2 separate regions of the Homo sapiens genome follow, and region 1 is linked to region 2. Evidence: promoter capture Hi-C in human tissues and cell types (Jung and others, 2019). All regions are on one chromosome and are shown on one strand. Each heading gives the region's core, a stretch centred on a gene start or on the middle of the fragment in contact. The rest is flanking DNA. Distances are from core to core; before and after follow the strand shown.

Evidence for each region. The method cuts DNA at HindIII sites, captures the fragments that hold promoters and counts their contacts. A contact is called where the count stands out against the background at its distance.
Region 1: a contact is called between a fragment that was not itself captured here and the fragment with the promoter of COMMD2 in region 2, in 1 of the 25 tissues and cell types used here (adrenal gland).

What each region holds. Positions count from the first base shown.
Region 1 is chr3:149,702,987-149,707,939 of GRCh38, reverse strand. It overlaps a transcript of WWTR1 not described here. Among named protein-coding and RNA genes, the nearest start is that of COMMD2, 47 kb to the left of the region's middle. The HindIII fragment of the contact is 5,305 bases long and covers 1-4,042 here.
Region 2 is chr3:149,751,239-149,755,700 of GRCh38, reverse strand. COMMD2 (COMM domain containing 2) reads left to right here and starts at 3,212. Exons shown (of 5, transcript NM_016094.4): 1 at 3,212-3,323; 2 at 3,414-3,491; 3 at 4,216-4,298. The coding sequence starts at 3,257. RefSeq lists a silencer at 2,987-3,056. The HindIII fragment of the contact is 2,909 bases long and covers 1,909-4,462 here.

The DNA.
Region 1 (4,953 bases), core at 141-2,640, 46 kb after region 2:
TATGGCCATACCATACTGTTGGCCATACCAATTGGTATGACCATACCATACTGTTGGCCATACCAATTGGTATGACCAAATTTTCCCCAGAAAGGGGAAGCTGGAGCCTGAGCAGGCGGTAGAGACTATTGCAAGTTCAGTAAGAGACACATATGTTTGGGGACATGCAAACATATTCAATTGGCAGTCAGTTTGCCTCCTGAAAGGGTGACTGGAGCTGAGAACCTACATTGCCTCTAGTGTAGCATTTCCTTAGGTAGGCTCTGAGTCCTCTGAGAAATGATTCCCTCTGATATTCACAGTGCACATGAATATATCAGAGGCCCTCAGAGTGTTCTGGGAAAGGGAATTGCTTAATTTTGTTAAACCTAGGTTTTCCTAAACTCATGTGACTGCCCTGCCTTTTTTTTCATAAAACATCTATTAATTTAATGAGGACTACACTTTGGGGAATTGTTCTCCTGTTCGTGAAGATATTTCTTAGTTGACAAAGGGAAGCAGAGGAGAAACTGGTTAGATAGTTGATAAATCTGTGAATATTCAATGTGTCCCTATTAAGTCACCAAAACAGACTGAGGAAGCTTCCAAAAACCCAGGCCTGGCCTGGAAACTGAGGACACTAACCCCTCTGCATGGGGAGCGGTGGTGAAGTTTGCTGGGGGCTTTGATCAAAGACAGCTTGCTGTCTTGGCTTTCTCCCTACACTGCATGTGCTAGTGAAGCCTGGCCAATCCCTCCCCTAGTTCTTTTTTATCCTCTACATTGGCTCCTTGTCCTTGCTTTTCCATTTGCATAACTAATGCACACAACACAGAGTTCCCGCAATTTTAAAGACAGCTGGCCAGCACATCTTGGATGCTGATGTCAGGAAACATCTGGAAGAGGGCTAAAGTTACTGAAGGCCCATCTGAGAACAATGGAAACACATTAATATGGAAAATTCAGTATTGGGGTTGGGGGGTGGCTTGTGTAAATAAAAATGGCTGTCAGACCAACTTATAAAAGTCTTGCGCAAAACCTTATTGTAGTTTTGGCACTAATACCACGGAGCAATTGAGTGGTAGTCCAGCTAAAACTGAAATATTGCTGCTTTGTTTTGTATATGTATCACTGAGACCTTCCTTTTCTTAAAAGGTTTCCTAGAAGTCCTGCCAGCTCAGCAAGATATTCTATTCTAAAAAGTTCATAAAATAGTGTTTTACTTTATAATAATATTAAGATGATCTCCCTTCTTTCTCCTTGTTCCCTCTTGCTCAAAATATAAGGATATAAAATAGAGTTCTGATACACCTTTTTCTGCTATCTCTAAGAAGTCAGTGTTGGCCAGGCATGGTGGCCAACCTCCTGTAATCTCAGCACTTTGGGAGGCTGAGGCGGGTGGATCACCTGAGGTCAGGAGTTCGGGACCAGCCTGATCAACATGGAGAAACCCTGTCTCTACTAAAAATACAAAATTAGCCGGGCGTGGTGGTGCATGCCTATAATCCCAGCTACTCGGGAGGCTGAGGCAGGAGAATCTCTTGAACCCAGGAGACGGAGGTTGTGGTGAGCCGAGATCACGCCATTGCACTCCAGCCTGGGCAACAGGAGTGAAATTCTGTCTCAAAAAATAAAAGAAGTCAGTGTTAGTAGAAATACTAAGGTTTACAAATATTTAAATGTGAACATTATAGAATGTGCACGAAAAATTTACATGTGAACATTCTTTTTCTTTTTTTCTTTTTTATTTTTTCTTTTGAGACAGAGTCTCTCTCTGTCACCCAGGCTTGACTGCAGTGGTATATTGTGTGATCTCAGCTCACTGCAGCCTCCACCTCCCAGGCACAAGCAATCCTCCTGCCTCAGCCCCTTATCCTGAGTAGCTGGGACTACAGGCACATGCCACCACACCTGGCTAATTTTTGTATTTTTTGTAGAGACGGAGTTTCAAATATTGCCCAGGCTGGTCTCAAACTCCTGGACTCAAGCAATCCACCCGCCTTGGCCTCCCACAGTGCTGGGATTACAGAAATGAGCCACCGCACTGCAACATTATTTTTCAGGGCTGTGTGGCATAGTAGTTAAATAAACAGATTTTGGAGTTTGAATTCTAGCTCCTCCTCTTACCCAATTATATGAAACTTTGAGAAAATTACTTAATTAGCATAACTTCATTTTGAAAATTATAACTATTTTTGCCAGTTGGAATTGTCATGAGGAGTGCACAAGCTAATATATGTTTTCAGTGCTTAATGATTAGTTGTCCAGGTTAGCTATTCTTACTGTGGTTTTGTTGATATATAAGGATTAAGAAGAAATCCCTGCTATAATCTATTTTGCAATCCAACTCCAAAACACTGAGCATTTGCTTTCAATTTCCTGCCCAACAGATATATGTTTTGGAATCAGGGTTTCTCCCCCTAAGTGTTACTTTAAAGTTCTACCTACTGTTTCACTTTATTTTGTAGAAACTGAAAATGGCATCTTGTCTCTTGTACAACTACAAGTTCATGATTACTATCTCATATTGTTTTCTGACATTTGAATTCTTGGTCTTGATACCTGCTTTTTCCCTCTGAAAGCTTGTTGGATTTTCTCCTATTTCTAAGGGTCTGACATTTCACAATGGTCTATTTTCATCCATTGTCTAGGTATTTTGGGGGCGCTATCAATCTGGCAGCTCACATCCTTTGGTTTTTGAAATCTTGAATTATTGATTTATTATGAGCTCCTCCCCATCAATTTTTCTGTTCTCTTTCTTTCTGGAACTCCTGTTTATTGAAATATTGTACCTTGTAGACTGATCCTCTGATTGTTTTTTCTTTCCTATTGTCCTTTTCTTTGTCTTTTAGCTTTATTTTCCTAGTTTCTCAACTTTATCATATAAACTGTCTAAGTTTTAAAATTCCATTATTATATTTCAAATTTCTAAGAGTTATTTTTTGTTCTTTTTATTTCATCCTGTTCTTATAACATCTTTTTACTTCTCTGAAGATATTATTAGCTTTTTTAAAAGCTTTTATTTCCCTGCATATTCTCAAGACTTTGTTTCCTCTCTAATTTTTGTTTTGTTTTGTTTTTCGTTGTTTGTTGTTGTTGTTTTTTTTTTTTTAACTTTTGTGTGTTCTGTCTCTCTCTTCTTTGGTAGGGGCTTTTTTCAGATGTCTGATAATTCTGGCCCTTCACTTGTATTTTAGAGCTAATGGGCACCTCTGTGCCATGGATGAAGCTTGTTACCTTTTGTCTTTAGAATGATCAGTCTGGGCCATTTCTATGGGAGGGGGATGTCCTTGTCTTTAGGTCTTTTTTCTTGGTCTGAGCAAGTTTTCTAGAAGGTAAATGTCTCCTCTCCTTCCTAGAATGGTTCCTTATGCTGGCTGCCTCTGTTCTGGAGGTTGAATTTGGACTGAGAATAGTGCTTCATTATATAAGCCTTTTTTCAAATCTGTCTGCTTTCAGCATAATATTCCCAGTCTTTATCGTGCCTAGTGTCCTAGCTCTGGCTTAGAGACCCTCTGTTATATCTTCTGCAGCAGTCACTAAACTGCATTTGGGAGGGAGGCTTTTGGGGTAGCCTACCCTGGGAAATGGCTTGCTTCTTGGTTTCCCCTGTGCTGATTTAGAATTTAGCCTTCTTAGTTTGTTACGTGATATGCAAAGTATCCTATTTTTTAGCTCTTAAAATTTTGTTGCTGTCATTATTTTCTCCCCCTTTTAATTTGTTAAAATCCTTTTATTTTTAATTTAATAGAGGTTTGGGGGTAAACACATTTGTTCAATCAGCCATCTTTAATCAGCATTTTTAAAAAGATATTCTTGGCCAGGCATGGTGGCTCATGCCTGTGATCTCAGCATTTTGGGAGGCTGAGGTGGGAGGATTGCTTGAGCTCAGAAGTTCAAGGCTGCAATGAGCCATGATCATGCCACTGCACTCCAGCCTTGGTGACAGAAGGAAAGCCCATCTCAGAGGTTTATCAGTCCATTCTTGTGTTGCTATAAAGGAATACTCAAGCTTGGTGATTTATAAGGTAAAGAGGTTTATTTTGGCTCATGGTTCCACAGGCTGGATGAGAAGCATGCGCCAGCATCTGCTTCTGATGGGGACTCAGGAAGCTTCCAATCATGGCAGAAGGTGAAGGGGAGCTGATGTGTCACATGGCAAAGAGGGAGCAAAAGAGACAGTGAGGAATTGCTAGGCTTGTTTTAAACAACCAGATCTCTTGTGAACTCATAGAGTGAGAACTCACTCATTATGTCGAGGACAGCACCAACCCTCTTATGAAGGATCCACCCCCATGACGCAAACACCTCCCAAGAGGCCCACCTCCAACACTGGAGGTCACATTTCAACATGAGACTTGGAGGGTATAAACATCCAAACCAAAATGAGGGTGGGGAGGAGATATTCTTAATGTAATACTTTTTTTCTGAAAAATTAGATTTTCTGTGCCAGAATCCCAAATCTAAGAAATCTAAGATAAAGTAATGTGCCTGAGAATAGCTTTGTAAATGTGTTCATTTAATTTCTAACTGGGTTTTAATATTTTGGCCGTCATAACTGTTGTGTGGTAAATATTTCTGTTTGTTGGCAAAACCCTTTTGGGTTGTTCATCACCTTTTATGTCATTATAGATGTAAACAACATGTGTGCTCCAGATGGACTCTGAAATCCAGGCTCCCACTTTATGACACACTCCTCTACAACACCAGAGACTCCCAAACACAAGGCCTTATATTGACTCATTTCAGCTCACATCCTGGCGACTCTCAAGAGAGAAACCTCAGAGTGACTAAAATCTCCATAATGAGAAGACATGTACATTCAGTATCTATTTTGGTAGGAGACTTTATATTCAGCCTTCTTTCTGTAGAGTAAGACGTGGAGATTTGGACTTAGGGTGGGCTGTATGTGGGGTGGAGAGTAACAAGATAAGCAAGGAATTAACTCCATAGTAAATGTTAACACTTTCTACA
Region 2 (4,462 bases), core at 1,963-4,462:
CACGTTATTGTCCTCTTGACAGTATAGTGAATTGAGCTGTAATTCCTTGCAGGGGGTGATAATATTTTATGTGTCATTGAAACACAGCTAAGGAAATATCCTGTGCAAGGATTCTGGGCTAGAATACCTAAGAAGGAGAAAATAAATGGGAAAATATAAGAGAAAAGAAAGACGTATGAGCTGGAGGGGGATAGAAAGATGCAGAGAGAATGTGAGGGGATGATTGATATGAAGCCTTGTTCTCTACCAGCATCAATTGAAAAAAATACTGAGTATTTATTATTTGTTCACATTCACCCTGGAAGTAAGATAGCATGAAGTGACATTAAGACTGTATATATTTATAATGTAAATCTAATTGTAGAGCATTAGTATTAACATGCACAGGATATGCTGGGACATTTATTCTCAGCCTGATTCTTTTAAATTAGAGTTAATGTACATTCCCTATGCTTCCTTCTCATTTTGTTCATTCTCCAAGTATTGCTACTCATCACACTGTATGGAAATTACTTCATTATCTTTCTCCCTCACTTTTCTGACACCTCCTAGAGGGCAAGGACATTGTTTTATTCATCTACAAATTGCCAAAGCATAGCATATCTTTGAACCTTTAAGGAATTGCTTAATAAAGTTTGTTAAATTAAATGAATGGCTTTTAAGATGATTATTTGTGAATTTATAGGAGCATAAAATCTGCTCCTATAAAATGTAAATGCTGCTGTTTGCTTAATTCTAATTTATTGTTTCATTTGATCATCAAAATCAATTTTTAATGTGAATTTATTAGTTCATCTGAGCATCATAACAGCCCTGCATGGCACAGAAGGGCAGTATTAAAATGCCAGTTTTACAGACGAAGAGGCTATGGTTATAACATAAAAACAACTTATTAGAAGTCATACAGGTAGTGTCAGAGCCAGATCTGGAATCTAGAGTTTTGAATTTTCACTCAGGTAATTTTTTCTAAACAATTATATCACTTATGGCAACAGAAGTCACTCTATAAATTATCCTGGGGTGTTTTAACTCCCAGGCTGGTTTTTCTTGGATATAACTTGGTTTCTTTCTTTTTTTTTTTTTTGACAGTGTCTGACTCTGTCACCCAGGCTGGAGTGCAGTGACTCAAATCTTGCTCACTGCAACCTCTGCCTCGCAGGTTCAAGCAATTTTCATGCCTTGGGCTACCAAGTAGCTGGGACCACAGGTACATGCCACCAAGCTTTGCTAATTTTTGTATTTTTAGTAGAGATGGGGTTTTACCATGTTGGTCAGGCTAGACTTGAATTTCTGGCCTCAAGTGATCCTCCCGCCTTGGCCTTCCAAAGTGCTGGGTTTACAGGCATCAGCCACCATACCTGGCCTAACTTGGTTCCTTGACCACCTTTTTTAGACAGCCTATTGTGCTACTCCCTAGTCTCACCTTCACCTCGCCTGTCCTCACTTCATTCCCTGAGATTACAGACAAGAAAGGCCATTTCATATTGGCATAATATTGTGTCTATTTGCAAATTCATTTCAGCATTCCTACTCCCTATATATGTACAGTTCTTGAATACCTCTTTTGAATCAGTTGAAACTGGTTTTTACTGTAATCTCTCATTAATTACAGAATGCTGTAATTCTCTCATTAATTAACTAGTTCAATACATTTTTTGACATGTGTTCATTGTACACTTGTAGAAGAATCATGATTTTACCTTTTCTGAAAATTATTCTTTAATAATGGATGTTTTCTCAATAATGTGTGAATAAAGGCAACTTCAGGAAATGATGCAATTTTTGCTAATCTGCAATTCACAGTCTAAGTAAAAGTTGTGTTCTCTCTGCAAATGCTACTTCAAGAACTAACTAATAAGTTCAAGGACCTGTCTTTCTGTGTCCCAGTGGAAGAAACAATTTCAGTCAGATGTGAAGGACAAAGTAGACACAGAGAAGTGAATTGAAAAACTCTTCCAATTTTTAGTCTGCCTGGGAGACTCAGAATATAGAGTTGTCTCAAGCCTTAGATAGAAAAGACAGATATGAAGAGTCTTCTTCCCTTCCCCTCTCTTCCTCCACACCCTCCATTTTCAAGGGGTTAAGATTTGAAGAATCATATTCCTATCAATTAGCAACTTTATCATCTCTGATATTTGAACCACAGCAGGTGAGAAGAGAGTTGGAAAAGGAACTAAATTATCACAGGCGCTAAATACTTTTTAAAAGGCATTGCTCTGGGCCAGGTGTGGTGGTTCATGCTTGTAATCCCAGCACTTTGGGAGGCCAAGTTGGCTGGATGACTTGAGGTCAGGAGTTCAAGACCAGCCTGGCCAACATGGTGAAAACCCGTCTCTACTAAAAATACAAACATTAGCCAGGCATGGTGGTGGGCGCTTGTAATACCAGCTACTCGGGAGGCTGAGGCAGGAGAATCGCTTGAACCCGGGAGGCAGAGGTTGCAGTGAGCCGGGCGACAGAGCGAGACTCCATGTAAAAAACAAAACAAAACAAAACAAACAAACAAAAACATTGCTCTGAATCCTGTAAGCATCGGTCATTGTCATCATTATCTTTATCCTAATTTATAATCACTCATAAAACTTGTCAGAAGCTTTCAGCTTTCAGGCTGTTATGTAGAAGGATGGGCTTTGCAGCAGGTAAGTGAGGGATCCAACCCTCTCCATCTAACTCTGTCACAGGCTTTGTCACATAATCTCTGGAGCTTTGTGTCTTATCTGTAAAAACAAAGCCATGTTTGTTGAGGATATTAACTGAGATACATTTAAGATAACATAGAAGCTCTGGAAACTATTAGCTTTATAAAAGTGTCAGTTGCTGGACTTGTCTATCAGTTTCCTTATCTCTAATGGAAATTATAATGGAACCTACCTCATAGGGTTCTTCTGAACTCCAAATGTATTTAATAAATGTAAGAACACTTCCTGACACGGTTAGTGCTTAACAAATGTGAACTATTGATATTATTAATGTATGCTCCACGAGGGGGCGTGTCGGATTTGAAACACCTTTTCATCTCCCATAGAGCCTAGCACCTTGCACCCAGCAGGCGCTCACTGCATCTTTGCGGGATGATTTCAATGTTCTGACCTCAGCCTGCGCTGCAGGGAACGTCCGAGTGTAACGCGTTAGTTCGTAGGCCGGAACCCAAAGCTCCGGACGCTGCGACGCCGGAGCCTCTAGGCGCCGGGACACGGGCGCCGGAAGTGGCGAAGGCGGGGTCGGCGCTGCCGGGTGAAATCGTAGGACAGTGAAGATGCTGCTGGAATTGTCCGAGGAGCATAAGGAACACCTGGCCTTCCTGCCTCAAGTGGACAGCGCGGGTCAGCGGGCGTGGGGGCGGTGTTCTGTGGGCTGGGGAGGAGGTCAAAGGCAGCGCCTGGCACTCAACAGCCTTCTGACTTTCATTGCAGTGGTCGCCGAGTTTGGGCGGATTGCTGTGGAATTCCTGAGACGCGGCGCAAACCCAAAAATCTACGAAGGCGCCGCCAGTAAGAAGGGAAAGGGGAAGGCTCCGCAGGCTTCTAGGGCGGTTGCGAGCCATTCCCTGTCTCCCGGGAGAGAAACGGATTATTGCGAGTCCTAGGGTCTTGTTCCGATTGTAGTAGAATAAAACCAGCAGAGCTCTTCAGTCAGGGTGCAAATCCTGCCCGTCCCTTAAGTAGCTGTGAGATTGTTAAAGCTTCTATTAAATCAGTTTTCTCATGGTAAAATGTACATAATACCACCTTACTTTCAGAAATACTGAAAAGTGTTTTGTATAAATATACCAAAGTCTGTGGAATAGCTGGGTCAACTGTAAATTGCAAGTATTTGGTTATCATTATTAGTTGTTCAGATATCCGCTTTTGCTAAAAAAAAAAAAAAAAGTGTTGTTTTACCCCTGGGTAAGAGGCAGTCTCTGGGATTAAGTCAATCCCTGTCGAGTTCCTCTTCTGCCAGACTTGAAGGAGCTACGTATTCAAGAGAAGGGCTACGCACCTGATACTAGTCTCCACAGTTCTGCATTTTGTTAAGGTTACTTGGTGGGAAATACCAAAGGCATTTGGCTGGGAGTGGAATGACAAGGAGCAGGAGCCTCTGGCCAACTTACTGTTTTTCATGCAGTGTTTGAAAACATGTAATAATGAATAGTGTTTATTTTTAAATACAAATATGAACAAGATAAATACTACAGTAGTAATTTATTTGCTCGTTTTTACTTTTCTTTCTCAGGAAAACTCAATGTGAGTAGTGACACTGTCCAGCATGGTGTGGAAGGATTAACGTATCTCCTCACTGAGAGCTCAAAGCTCATGGTAAGGGATTTTCTGGACTGTTTTGTGTTGGCTGGATTCTTAAGAACGGTCTGGTGTACTCTACATCATAGTCCTGGCAGGTACCTGTGTGTTTTAATAATGTTGTTAATGGTTTATAATTGATTTTTTGAAGACATACCTAAAAAATAAAAATCATATCATCT